Linked DNA regions of Homo sapiens: regions 2 and 3 are each linked to region 1. Evidence: promoter capture Hi-C in human tissues and cell types (Jung and others, 2019). All regions are on one chromosome and are shown on one strand. Each heading gives the region's core, a stretch centred on a gene start or on the middle of the fragment in contact. The rest is flanking DNA. Distances are from core to core; before and after follow the strand shown.

What was found. The method cuts DNA at HindIII sites, captures the fragments that hold promoters and counts their contacts. A contact is called where the count stands out against the background at its distance.
Region 2: a contact is called between a fragment that was not itself captured here and the fragment with the promoter of RRAGD in region 1, in 2 of the 25 tissues and cell types used here (H1 embryonic stem cells and bladder).
Region 3: a contact is called between a fragment that was not itself captured here and the fragment with the promoter of RRAGD in region 1, in 2 of the 25 tissues and cell types used here (heart left ventricle and hippocampus).

Annotation. Positions count from the first base shown.
Region 1 is chr6:89,410,345-89,414,743 of GRCh38, forward strand. It overlaps RRAGD (Ras related GTP binding D), which reads right to left and starts at 1,929. Exons shown (of 7, transcript NM_021244.5): 1 at 1,502-1,929. The coding sequence starts at 1,649. RefSeq lists silencers at 886-985, 1,016-1,125, 1,156-2,345. The HindIII fragment of the contact is 6,593 bases long and covers 1-4,399 here.
Region 2 is chr6:89,021,159-89,025,557 of GRCh38, forward strand. No RefSeq gene overlaps it. Among named protein-coding and RNA genes, the nearest start is that of PNRC1-DT, 57 kb to the right of the region's middle. RefSeq lists an enhancer at 400-1,015. The HindIII fragment of the contact is 6,267 bases long and covers 1-4,399 here.
Region 3 is chr6:89,073,663-89,078,061 of GRCh38, forward strand. No RefSeq gene overlaps it. Among named protein-coding and RNA genes, the nearest start is that of PNRC1-DT, 4.7 kb to the right of the region's middle. The HindIII fragment of the contact is 5,757 bases long and covers 1-4,399 here.

The DNA.
Region 1 (4,399 bases), core at 679-3,178:
AATACATCCCTATTCTGCATCTCTCCGGAGTCTTCTAAGAATCTGGGAGGAGCTAACAAATGGAATTTGAATAATAATGAGGCGACTGAACAATTTAATTACGGAAGGTAGCTCTAGAGACTCCAATAAAACGGCTGAAAGCCTTTATCTACAAAAATGTGGCCTGGTGCTCAACGGTAAGACCAATTACCGGGAGTGCAGAAGACAGAAAGCACAAAGGTGCACACATCAGTTTAAGCAAATGAGGAATTAGCACAAATCATCCCAAGAGAGAAAACGCTATGAAAAAGGGTGACTTGAGAGGCTGCTTTCTCATCTACCAGGCGCAAGGCATAGTTAACTTTATTTCCTTTCTGATTCATTGAAAGTCGTGCCTGCCAGATGTAGAATAATGAAACTACCCTAGTGAGAAAAGCTTTGCATAGAGAATTTAAAATAAGTTCAGTGAATTCTCAATAAAAGTTCTTTAAAAATCAATAGTCACAAAGGTACTTGTATCTCTCACACAATTTCTTCAGTGTGAAACATTAAAGTTAGTTCCTTCTCTTGGATGCATACAGTTTCACTGAGAATAACATCATGTTTAACAGCCGCTTTCTATTGACCTTTCCAAGTGACCTTACAGTAAAGGAACTTTTGCTCGCTTCTGAGGGAAACTAAAAAAAGTTTAACCTCTCTGGAATACTAAAAGGCTCTCAACTTCCTTACACCTTAAGAAAATGCAGGAAGCCCCCACAAGCTGAACGATTGCTAAAACCCGCTTCTAGAACAGGAAAAAGAGTTTGCTTCACTATTGAAGCAAAGAATTCCCCGCCGCGCGCTCACTCCCGGGCAGGCACTGCCATGTCCAGGTGGTGATACCGAGAGCAGATAAGGTGTCCTGACAACGGTGTTTGCGTGGATCCCGGGAAATCTGCGGCCTCTCGGAGACTCCCACAACAGCTTGGCGAGCATCCCCCCGCCGCCCCGCGGGTCTCCCCAGCCACTACCTGGGTGGGCCCCTCCCGCGGCGACGCGGGGCGAGACTGACACCCGCAGCTGCCGACGACCCTGCCAGTCACGCCGCCGCCGGCTGCCTTTTTTTAGCCACGACATCTGACCCTGGCTTCAACAGCACCGTTCTGGGAGAGAGGTCCCAGGGCGCGCCCGCGGTCCCCTCCCCTCCCCAACCGCCAGACGCTGCGGAGAGCTTGGGGTGAGGGGCGCGGGAGGCACCGGCTCTGAAAGGGGCAGAAGCGCGCGCTCCTCCAGCCCAGACGCTTACTCCCTCCTTCCCCTTTTCCACCGATCCTGGTTGCCCCTCCGCCACCAGCACCGCGCTCCCTCATTTGGCAGCTCGAGGTCGGGCTTTTGGCGTCCCTCCCCACCCCAAACCCTCAACTGGACCCGCTCCCCTGGACCCCCTCCAAGTCGGTGGCTCGCGCACGGCCGGGCTGGGGGCGGGAAGGCGCCAAGGGGAGGAAAGGGGCGCGAGCCGAGGACGCGGGGGCCGGGCGCTCACCTCCCTCCTCTGTGCCGCTGTCCGGATCGGCGTCGGAGGAGTCGGGCCCGTCTCCGTAGTCCGCTAGCCCCACCAGCTCATCCTCCTCCTCCTCCTCCTCCGCGTCGTCCTCGTCCTGCGGCTGCGGCTTCCCCAGCACCTGGCTCATCGTGCCCACCGGCCGGCCGGCCCGGGGACGGCGGGGGTCCCGGGGTGGGGGCCAAGCCTCCTAGCCGGCCGCCCGCAGCCTATTTCTGAAGCGGAGGTTTGTCTAGAGCTCAGCGGGGCCCGGCGGAAGCGGGGGCCGCGCGTCCCCCGGCGGGCGGCGCCCAGGTCCGGGTCCCGCGGTTCCCAGCGCGCCCGAAGCCCCCTCCCCCGCCCCGCCCGCCGGCGGAGGAGTCAGCCGGAGCGCGGCAGTTCCTCCCGGAGGAGGGAGAGAGAGAGAGACTGCGTGACCCGAGTCACCTGACACACACTGTCACATACTCACATACACACCCCGCACGGGCGCGCGCGCGCTCGCCCGGCCGCGGGCACCACTCGGCGGGGCGCTGGGCCGAGGACACACATGCACACGCACACGCACACGCACGAGGAGACCGGGGAGGCGCGGGGCCCCTGCACCCTCCCAGACTCACACCGACACACGCCCCGTACACGGGGCCCCCGGGACGCCGGCCGTCACCCACCGCGGCTGCGCGCCAGGGGCCCCCACGCGCCTCTCCTTCACGTGGTCCCCGCACAGGCAGGGGAGGGGGCGCCGCACACCCTCAATGTCCCCCCCGCCGTCCCACTCCCACACGCCCGCAGAGCGTCTACCGTGGGCGGATGCCTCCTGCTTACAGTCCTGAGCTAGGGTCCCAAGCGGGTGGCCTCCCAACACTGTGGCGCCCAGATCCCCCACCCCAGAGCAGCGTGCCCAGGACACCCTGTGGACGCTCAAGAGCCCCAGGCGGAGAACTCAGATAAATGCACAGTGGAGGCGCAGTCTCCATAGCAATTGTCTTTTAGTGTGCCTTTATGGTTCAAAGTGCTTCCCACCAAGAATATTTAAAAAGCAGGCCTACCCAGACGTAAATGTTTCTGAAGAAATCACATGACTCGTGGCTGCTTAGACTAAATAATTCCTCTGCAGCCCTTTGGAAAAGGTCTCAGTGTATAACACACTCGGGGGCTATTCATGGCCACCTCCTCATGTCTCATTGTTGCATAGACTGTAATCCCACATGAATAAAATATTTCAAGGCTTTTGTGGGAGTAGGGGAGTGGCGGTGGTGGGGGGGCAATTCTCAAATAGGAATAGCAGCAACGTGGAGTGAGACTCTAAAACCTGCATTCCTCCTTCACAAGCTTTTCACCACGGAACACACTGTACCCACCCTTTCTGGGTACTGCAAAAAATTACGTGGATGAACTTCCTTCTGTGGAGCACAATAAGAAAAAACCGGCCGGTCAGCATGATGATCCAGCTCCTACAGGTGCCAGCAGCTCAGCCGGTGGTGCGGTGCAGAAGCGGAGGGAGGAAGCTAGGGCAGGAGACTCTCAGGGCCCAAGGGTGCTAACCTCCATAGGAAACATTTATTAACCACCTCCTATATGCCTGAGGCTGGGCTAAGTAGAGGGTCCAAGAATGCTCAGGGCAGTGTTCCTGCCCTGAAGGAGCTCACAGTCTACCAAATCATGACTCATGTCCTGGATTTTTTTTAGTATTTCTGAGTGCAGAAGGTGGATGCAGACACTTTCCAGAAGGTGGCTGCTTCTAATGGGAAAGGTCCTGAGATTTTCCAAGGGAGGCAGGCAGTATAATTTGGTATGACTGTATCAGTTAAGGTTCTTCCCAGGATGAAACAGACGGTATGTGCAAAGACTTTAACTGAAGCCTTCAAGTGAAGGAACAATTTACAGGGGTGTGGACAGAGTTTAGGGAATCAATGCAGGTATTAGCGATAGTGGGAAGATAACACCACCCCTAAATTTACAGGAGTGAGGAAGGGAGCTAGAGTCCTGGAGAGGGGCCACAAAACAGGAGCTGTAACTGATGAGGAAGCTGCTGCTGCCAGAACGGCCTCACATCAAGGAGAGAGCAAAGACCTCTCTTTCTCTCCATCCATCCTCCCTCCACTCTCCTGTGTCTCCCATTGGCCAAACCCATCTGGTAGCCAGAAGGCAAGGGAGCCTGGAACCTAGTCCAGGACAGAGATTGGATAGGGAGGGCAGGGAGTGGGTCCCTGGGTGGGGTGAGGTGCAAGGAGCATCACCAACACAAGCAGGCACTACATACTCCCATCAGAGGCAAGTTACTTATGCCCTTCTAAACCCGATTGCTTATCAATAGAACATCACTCCTTCTAAGGATTATTAGGAAGATTAAATGAGGCGGAAAAAAAATCTCAGGTACTTACAAAGCTCATTTCCTAGGAGTAATTTTCCTAGCCTATTTTCATCCCTTCCGTCAAAGGAAACCCCAGGGAGGAGGGCCTCCCAGAGTGTGGCTGAGGACTTTCAGCTATTCTATAGCTAGCCCACCATCCTCAAGTGGCCTTTGAACTGGTCTGATTCAAACTGCAAATAACAATTTAGGAGATCTAGAAGACTGTCCAAGGTCAACCCAGACTCAGACGTATAGGGCATTCCTGGGCAGGTTGCCAAGTGTGTAAGACCCATGGACTCAAGGGATCAGGAAAGGGCAGGTCATAATCCAACAGCCCCACTGTGCCTATGGACTAGAAAGGACAGAAATGTCTGATGATCCTCTAACTTCCCCAGGAAGAGAGATCTTAGAAGGAAACAATAGATTGGGGCACACTCCAAGATACTTGAGAATTGGACCATTCTTTTGTTTTTTTCTTTTAACATGGAGTCTCACTCTATCACCCAGGATGGAGTGTAGTGACATGATCTCAGCTCACTGCAACCCCT
Region 2 (4,399 bases), core at 1,402-3,901, 390 kb before region 1:
CAGGGAGTTTGGAATTTATTTATTTATTTTTTTTTGAGATGAAGCTTCACTCTTGTCGCCCAGGCTGGAGTGCGGTGGCACAATCTCGGCTCACTGCAACCTCCACCTCCTGGGTTCAAGAGATTCTCCTGCCACAGCCTCCTGAGTAGCTGGGATTAGAGGCATGTGCTGCCACGTCCAGCTAATTTTGTATTTTTAGTAGAGACAGGGTTTCTCCATGTTGGTCAGGCTGGTCTCGAACTCCTGACCTCAGGTGATCCACCTGCCTCAGCCTCCCAAAGTGCTGGGATTACAGGCATGAGCCACCATGCCCGGCCGAGTTTTGAATATTTTGTGTGTCTGAAGCATGGGACTCATGGGAAGGATGGGGCTGGAAATCTAGGCAGTAAGTAGCAAGGTCATGAAGGACCTTGGATGTTGTGTGAGAGATGGAGCTTCAATAAGCTTGAAGCCCACCCTGTTTGGGAAAGCCAGATTCAGAGGTCACCTGGAACTGTTCTTGGATTCCACCTCGGCCCGCTGTGATCCCTTAGAAATGTGCTTAGACTGATTCCCACTGTCTCCAGTACCAAGCTGAAAAGAGGCAAGAAGGTAAATATCTCCTCCCCTGAGAAAGTTGATTCGTAGTTTGCACCAGCAGGCTGTCATGGAGACAGGACAGCTATGCACTTCTCAGAACAATTGGGAGAGGCCATTCTGAATACTGCCAAGTCCTGTGTTTTGTTATGCAGGGTGAAGGAACTGGTACCTTTTGCCTGTGGCGTTTGCAGCATCTTTTCACCTCCACCCTTTTGATAATCATGTGACATGCCAAGGAACTGGTTTTTCCACCTATAGGCCAGTGGTTCTTCCCTCTTTTTGAGACACAGGCCTTTTTGAGAGTGTAATGAAAACTACAGGCCCTCTCCTGGGAAATAGATGTATTCATGTCATTCATCTACACTACTTTAGAGAGTTCATTTGTCCATATGTCTGCTAAATATCTGTGGACCATAGGTTAAGGACCTCTCTTGCAGAAACAATGCATCATTGAAGGGTTTTAAGAAAGGAAGTAGCCAGTCACTGCAGAAGTGTGGTGGAAGATGGATTTGGAAGTTGAGACTAAAGGCAAGAATACCATCCATGAGAACACAGCAAAAGTCTGAAGGTCAAATTGACAAGAGCCTGAACTAAAGCAGCGTACATGGAAAAGGAGAGGAGGTGACGACTAGAGAGAAAGCTTATGTAGGTCTTTGTGATGGAGTGTGTGGAGGGTGGGAGAAGACAGCCTGAGGGAGAGGATGGGGTTCAGGAATCCTCCTTTGTCTTCACTCACCATGGTTGAAGCTGTGGACTGCCAGTAGAGTAAGCTCTAACCTACATAAAGTTTAGGTCTCCACCATGCCATCTCCCCACAAGTACAGCAACCGCAAATTTCTAATCTGGTGAATGTGTATGATCAATAATGTTAAACAATGAAAATAACCACAGAATCAATTTATTAAAAGTTCTGGTCCTCTGGAAGTACCCTCTGTAATAAATCTCCTGTGCCAACTTTTTTTTTAAAAAAAGCAAGACTAGGAACAATTTCTCAGAAAGTATCATTTTGTATTACAACAGAAATCTATTCTTTTCATAATATTAGTTGAAGTAGCCACCTAGAAACAATCAATTTTAGCAGAACATAGAGTACTTCTACAAAGATTTATCACCAATATAGATTTCCTTTTTTAACTTAATGACTCACCAGCAAAAACCTTTAAAACTGGAAGGCTCTGTGCTTTGTGAGATTGCCAAAGTTAGTCACTGATTTATTCCCCTAAGTGTAATTTGGAAGAACCTGCTATGTAAATCTGAATACTGTAAACCATGCACCATGAATCTTTTAAAATCTAGTTTTCCTATTAATGGTGCCTAAATGCTTAAGAGCAGACTCACAAATTAGGAGGGGGAAGGGAGCCCTCTGGGACCTTTTCTGTGAGAAACTTTTGTGCTACAATTTCTACTGAACCTGCATTTGGAGGATCAGCAGCAGATTCAGCAGGAATGGAAGCAGAGAACTGGGTCCTTTGGCAGACAGACCTAACTTTCCAACCACAATAAAGACTGATGTCTTAAGGTTGGATAAATACTCCTGAAATTATTGAGTTTATCACAGAAAAGGGACCCTGAAAAGAAAAGTCATTCTTGAGTTAAAGCTACAAACAACTGTGAATTGTAATAAGTGTTCTAAAGGAAATGTGCACAGTACTATGATCATGTCTTTTTTCCTGTGAAAATGTCTGCAATGGGATTGACTTGGTCTAGGAGTGTTAGAGGAGTTTTCTTGTTTTTTTTTTTCCAGGCAGGGTCTGGCTCTAGCACCCAGGCTGGAGTGCAGTGGTGTGATTTCGGCTCGCTGCAGCCTCCAACTCCGGAGCTCAATCAATCCTCCCACCTCAGCCTCCTGAGTAGCTGGGATTACCAGTGCATGCCACCATGCCCAGCTAGTTTTGTATGTTTTGTAGAGACGGGGTCTTTCCATGTTGCCCAGGCTGGTCTTGAACTCCTGGACTCAAGAGATCCTCCCACCTTGGCCTCCCAAAGTGCTGGGATTACACGTGTGAGCCACTGTGCCCGGCCAGAGGAGTTTTCTTGAAGTGACTCTTTCCCTTATCTAATATTGCACAACAAACTACCCTAAAACATAATAGCACAAAGTAACAAGCTTAAAGAAGACAAAAGAGATATAGAGAGGAACCACTTTATTTGCACACAATTTTGTAATTCGGGCTGGGCTCAGATGGTCAGTTTCTCTGGTCTTGTCAGTGGTCACTCAGGAGGCTGCATCCAGCTGGCACTTAGGCTAGGCCACAGCTGGGATTCTCTCATGTAATCTTTCCATTTGGTCTCTCCAGCAGGATAATCAGACCTTTAATATGTTGGCTCAAGCCTTCCAAGAGCACAAAAATAGAAGCTGCCAGCCTTTCCTAAGGCTTAGGCTTGGAACTGACACAGCATCATATCTGCTGAATTCCACTGGTTAAATCAGTCCACCCAGAGTTCAGGAGAGGGGACTATCACACAAGGGCATGAATACTGGAAGATGGAATTCATCAGGGGCCACCTTGTAACAAGCTATTAGAATGACCTTAGGCAGCAACCTGGAAGATGAGTAAGAGTTAACTGGGCAAAGAGGGAGGAAGAATGTTCCAGGCAGGGCAGTAGTATATGCAAAGCAGTTATGGCAGAGGATCCCCAGGCATTTCTAAGTGACTGAAAGAAAGCCAAGTTTGCTGGAGCACAGAGATCAAGGGAACAGTGGGTACAGGCAGGAAGGGGCCAGACCATGTGGTGCCACCGCATTCTTTAGGAAACTTTCAAATGCAAGTGGTAGAATCCCAATGCAAACCAACTCAAGCAAAAATATAAACAAACCAAAACAAGATAAACAAAAATAAAAAGAGAAAGAGAATTTATGCACTTATATTCCTGGAAAGTCCAGGGCCCAGTGGGTTGACTTCAAGTATGGCTATATCCAGGGCTTCAAATGACATCACCAGGAATTTGTCTCCCTCCATCTCTCTCCCTTTTATTTTTAGATGGAGTCTCATTCTGTCACCCAGGCTGGAGTGCAGTGGTAGTATGATCTTGGCTCACTGCAACCTCTGCCTCCCAAGTTCAAGAGATTCTCCTGCCTCAGCCTCCCGAGTAACTGGGATTATAAGACCCCACCACTACACCCAGCTAATTTTTTTTTTTCTTTTGAGACAGTCTTGCTCTGTTGCCAGGCTGGAGTGCAGTGGCGTGATCTCAGCTCACTGCAATCTCTGCCTCCCGGGTTCAAGCAATTCTCGTGCCTCAGCCTGCCGAGTAGCTGGGACTATACAGGCACCCGCTACCACACCCGGCTAATTTTTGTATTTTCAGTAGAGACGGGGTTTCACCATGTTGGCCAGGATGGTCTCAATCTCCTGACCTTGTGATCTGCCCGCCTGGGCCTCCCAAAGTGCTGGGATTACAGGCATGAGTCACTGCGCCCAGCTAATTTTTGTATTTTTTAGTAGAAACAGAGTTTTGCCATGTTGGCCAGGCTAGTCTCGAACTTCTGACCTCAGGTGATCCACCCGCCTCGGCCTCCCAAAGTGCTGGGATTACAGGTGTGAGCCACCACACCCAGCCTCTTTTATATTTTGAATTTTTTTTTTTTTTTTTTTTTGAGACAGGGTCTCTTTCTGTTGCCCAGGCTGGAGTAGAGTGGCAAGATCACTGCAGCCTCTAACTCCTGGGCTCAAATGACCCACCTCAGCCTCTCGAATAATTGGGACTGCAGGTGCATGCCACCATACCAGACTAATATTTTATTTTTTGTAGAGACAGGGTCTCGTATGCTGCTGAGCCTGGTTTCAACTCCTGAGCTCAAACAATCCTCCCACTTTGG
Region 3 (4,399 bases), core at 1,129-3,628, 340 kb before region 1:
AATTGCAGAAATAAAGTTATGTGTATGGATGATTTTTTTAAAATCTAAAGCATATATTAGTTTATAAAGCACAGACATGACTTTCCTTGTGAAAGAAGGGAGAGAAGAATAGCGGGAACTGAGAATCAGTCAAGCAGTCCTGGGAAAAAAATTAACCATACCAAGAACAGAAAGAACTACTCCACAGCATCTGTCACACCTACCAGCCAGGCAGAAGGAAGATCCAATAGTCAGTCAGCACCAGAGTCACACAGGACCATGTAGAAACAGAATTCAATAATGTGTTTCAAAATGAAGATTTGCCTAATCAAATGCCGTGAAGAAGACAGCTGACTGCACATTCTATCCCTGCCTCATGCATGATGAACCCTTTCAATGACTCTATTAATCATAACAAGTTAATGAGGCAAAATCAGTCTACAAAAATGGTTAACAGGCCAGGTCAATACATAATGATAAGAAACTAGGTTCTGCAAGGCTAGCCAACTGAAACTTGAAAAAATACACCGTATTTCAGGGAGAGGCATCAATTTACTAGAAATTAAAAGTTCTGCAGGGCCAGGGGCATTGGCTTATGCCAGCGCTTTGGGAGGCACTGGTGGGAGAACTGCTTGAGGCCAGAAGCTCAAGACCAGCCTGGGCAACAAGCAAGACCCTGTCTCTATAAAAAATTTAAAAATTAGCTAGGTGTGGTGGTACTTGCCTGTAGTCCCAGCTACTCAGGAACCTGAGGTGGTAGGGTTCCTTGAGCCCAGGAGTTTGATACAGTGAGCTACGATCGTGCCACTGCACTCCAGCCTGGTCAACAGAGCAAGACCCTATCTCCATAAACTAAATAAAGAAATACATTCTGCAAATGGCAAGGATTTTTAAAAGCTTGATCAATGTATACAATGAGAGCAAGGCTCAGGTAAGGAAGGCATAATGGAGACTGTTACCCAGCTAAGATGCAATTGGTTAAACATCAGCTGGTCTAAATGACATGCTTTTTCTATTTTTTTTTTTTTTTTTTTTTTTTGAAACAGGGTCTCACTCTGTCACCCAGGCTAGACTGCAGTGGCGCAATTATGGCTCCCTGCAGCCTTGACCTCCTGGGCTCAAGCCATCCTTCCACCTCAAGTCTCCTGAGTAGCTGGGATGACAGGTGGGCAACACCACATCCAGCTAATTTTTGTGGGTTTTGCCATTTTGCCCAGGCTGGTCTCAAATTCTTGAGCTCAAGTGATCCTCCCACCTCGGCCTCCCAAAGTTTTGGGATTACAGGCGTGAGCCACTGCACCCGGCCATGACACGCTTTTTCTTTTGGTTTTATATCTAGGCTGAAATAGAATCAAATGTCCATCATTATTATTGTACCCTAAGGTTGCCACTAGTCCTTTTGACACCTTCATACCAATAAGAAAAAGCCACCTTAGTCCATTCTGGCTGCTAAAACAAAATATCATAAACTGGGTAGATAACAAACAACAGAGATTTATTTCTCACACTTCCAGAGACCGGGATGTTCAAGATCAGGGTGCCAGCTGGTCAGGTTCTGGTGAGGTCCCTCTTCTGGGTTGCAGACTGCAGACTTCTTGCTGTGTCCTCAGTGGTATAAGGAGGAGGGGCCTCTGTGGCCTCTAATCATATGCATGAGGGCTCCAACCTGATGACCTAATCACTCCCCAAAGACCCCACGTCCTAACATTATCACACTGGTTATTAGGTTTCAACATAGGAATCTGGGGAAGACACAAACGTTCAAATCATAGCGATGCCCAGATGGCCCCAGCCCTTGGGAAGATGTCTTCAAGAGCAGAGTCAAAGCTCTGTTTCAGCTCTCCCTTGACTCTTTGGCCAGGTACCCTCATGCAAATTATAACCTGTACAAACCTGTAACCCCAGAGAGATATAAGTATAGGGATAATGGAGACATTAATTTCAATCTATGGTAACAATACTTTATAAGCACTCCAAGTGTCATAAATTTGTCATTATTGTGAAAATTTGTGCATATTTTGCTTTTTAACACAAATTTTAGATTTTTATTTAAACTCTTCAGAGTACATTATAAAATAAGTTTTGTAATCAATGCTGAAATGTTAGGAAAATTTTTACTTGCTAAACAAAAACATTTTGATTTCCTGGTTGTTTTATGTTTAGAAGACTATTATTTTATAAATTTGAAAGATTAATAATTTGAGCATTAAGCAAAACAGAAGGCCGGGTGCAGTGGCTCACGCCTATAATCCCAACACTTTGGGAAGCTGAGGCGGGCGAGTCACCTGAGGTCAGGAGTTTGAGACCAGCCTGGCCAACATGGTGAAACCCCATCTCTACTAAAAATACAAAAATTGGCCAGGCATGGTGGCATGCACCTGTAATCCCAGCTACTCAGGAGGCTGGGGCAGGAGAATCACTTGAACCTGGGAGGTGGAGGTTGCAGTGAGCCGAGCTGAGATCACACTACTACACTTCAGCCTGGGCAACAGAGTGAGACACCGTCTAAAAAAAAAAAAAAAGCAAAATAGAAGTTTGATTAAGTGTTCCTCTTTTCACACAGGTGTCCCTCACACCTTAGACATTACAGATCTAAGCAATAGGCTGGGTGAGGTGGCTCATGCCTGTAATCCCAGCACTTTGGGAGGCCAAAGTGGTTGGATCACTTGAACTCAGGAGTTCGAGACCAGCTTGGGCAACATGGCAAAACCCTGTCTCTATCAAACACGCACACACACAAATTAGCAGACATGGTGGCATGCGCCAGCTAGGGAGGATGAGGTGTGAGAATCTCCTGAACGCCAGAGGTGGAGGCTGCAGTGAGTTGTTATCGCACCACTGCACTCCAGCCTGGGTGACAGAGTGAAGCCCTGTCTCAAAAAAGAAAAAGAAAAAAAAATCTAAGTAATAATAGGTAGAAAAAATGGTAATAAAGTCTATATAAAGAGGAAAAAAGACATTCAGGGTAGGAGGAAAGAAAATGACATTTCATACAGAGAGAGGGAGAGAAAGAGGACAGAGGTAAAATACACGAGAGACAAAGGTAGATAGAAGAGAGAGAAGTGGAATTTGGAGTTCTGCTTAGTGTCAATGCGGGTAAGCTGCTTATTTCATAAATGGGCATTACCTCTTTTTTCTGCTATTTAATACCTAGTTTACTTTCCAATCTTTTATTTTTCTTCTAACCTCCTCTAAAGATTAGCTTAACAAAAATAAAATCAAGATGTACACTGGAGCAAAAAGCTTCAAGAACTCTGAGAATTCTCCTAAAATTTCCTTTACCCTTGGAATATCTTGTTACCTCCAAGTTTGGCCTTTTGGGCCCAAGCAAAAGGATCTGATTTTTTTTTTTTTTTTTTTTTTCCCTGAGATGAAGTCTTGCTCTGTCGCCCAGGCTAGAGTGCAGTGGCGTGATCTCGGCTCACTGCAACCTCTACCTCCCAGGTTCAAGTGATTCTTCTGCCTCAGCCTCCCAAGTAGCTGGGACTACAGGCATGCACCACCACAACTGGCTAATTTTTGTATTTTTAGTAGAGACAGGGTTTCATCATGTTGGCCAGGCTGGTCTCCAACTCCTGACCTCAAGTGATCCATCCACCTTGCCATCCGTGAGCCACTGCACCCAGCCTGATCTTTTTCCTTTATATCATATAGCACAGCTAACACTATATGTTTAAACCTGTAACGCTTAGGTTTAAACATTAAAATTAGACTTTACTAAAGACTAAGGGTTTACAAAGACTACCCACACAGAGTAACATTAAATCCAATCATCTGGCTTATAAAACCTCGACCTCTCTCTTCTAAGTGCCCCATTTCAGCTCCCATTCTGTTTCTTAGTGGTGGGCACCATTTTAGCAATCTCAGCACCCATCACCCAGGTGGTCACAGCTGCAAGGTTACTTTTCTTACAGTACAGAACCCAGGGCAAACATGAAGCCTACACTTAAGGCCTCAAAATGATAAGTTATACACATAATTACTCCAACAATCACCCAAGAAATACACATAGACAATAATAGGTATCTTTGACCAAGGGCCCCACAGAGCTGGCTACCAATGACCAGCTCCCTGAAGGGTAAATTATTCTCTAGGACAGTATGATATTATCCCCAGATAAAGTCAAGCCTAAAATCATGGGATATAGTGAAAAGAACACTGGACTAGGCATCAGGAGTTCGAGTTATTCCTACCTCATTTTGTGAACCCCCCCCCCCAAGCAAGTTACTATATATTTAAATTTATTTACACCATACGTTAAATAGGACCTCTCTATATCAACCTTAAAGTGCTAGAGTAAGAATAAAATGAGATGACAGATGGAAAGTGCTTTGAAAAAGTAGATTCTTTTACAGCTCTGGATGTCCATGATTCCCATCCATCCAATGAACATGAGCACTTACTATGCATTACATGTTGC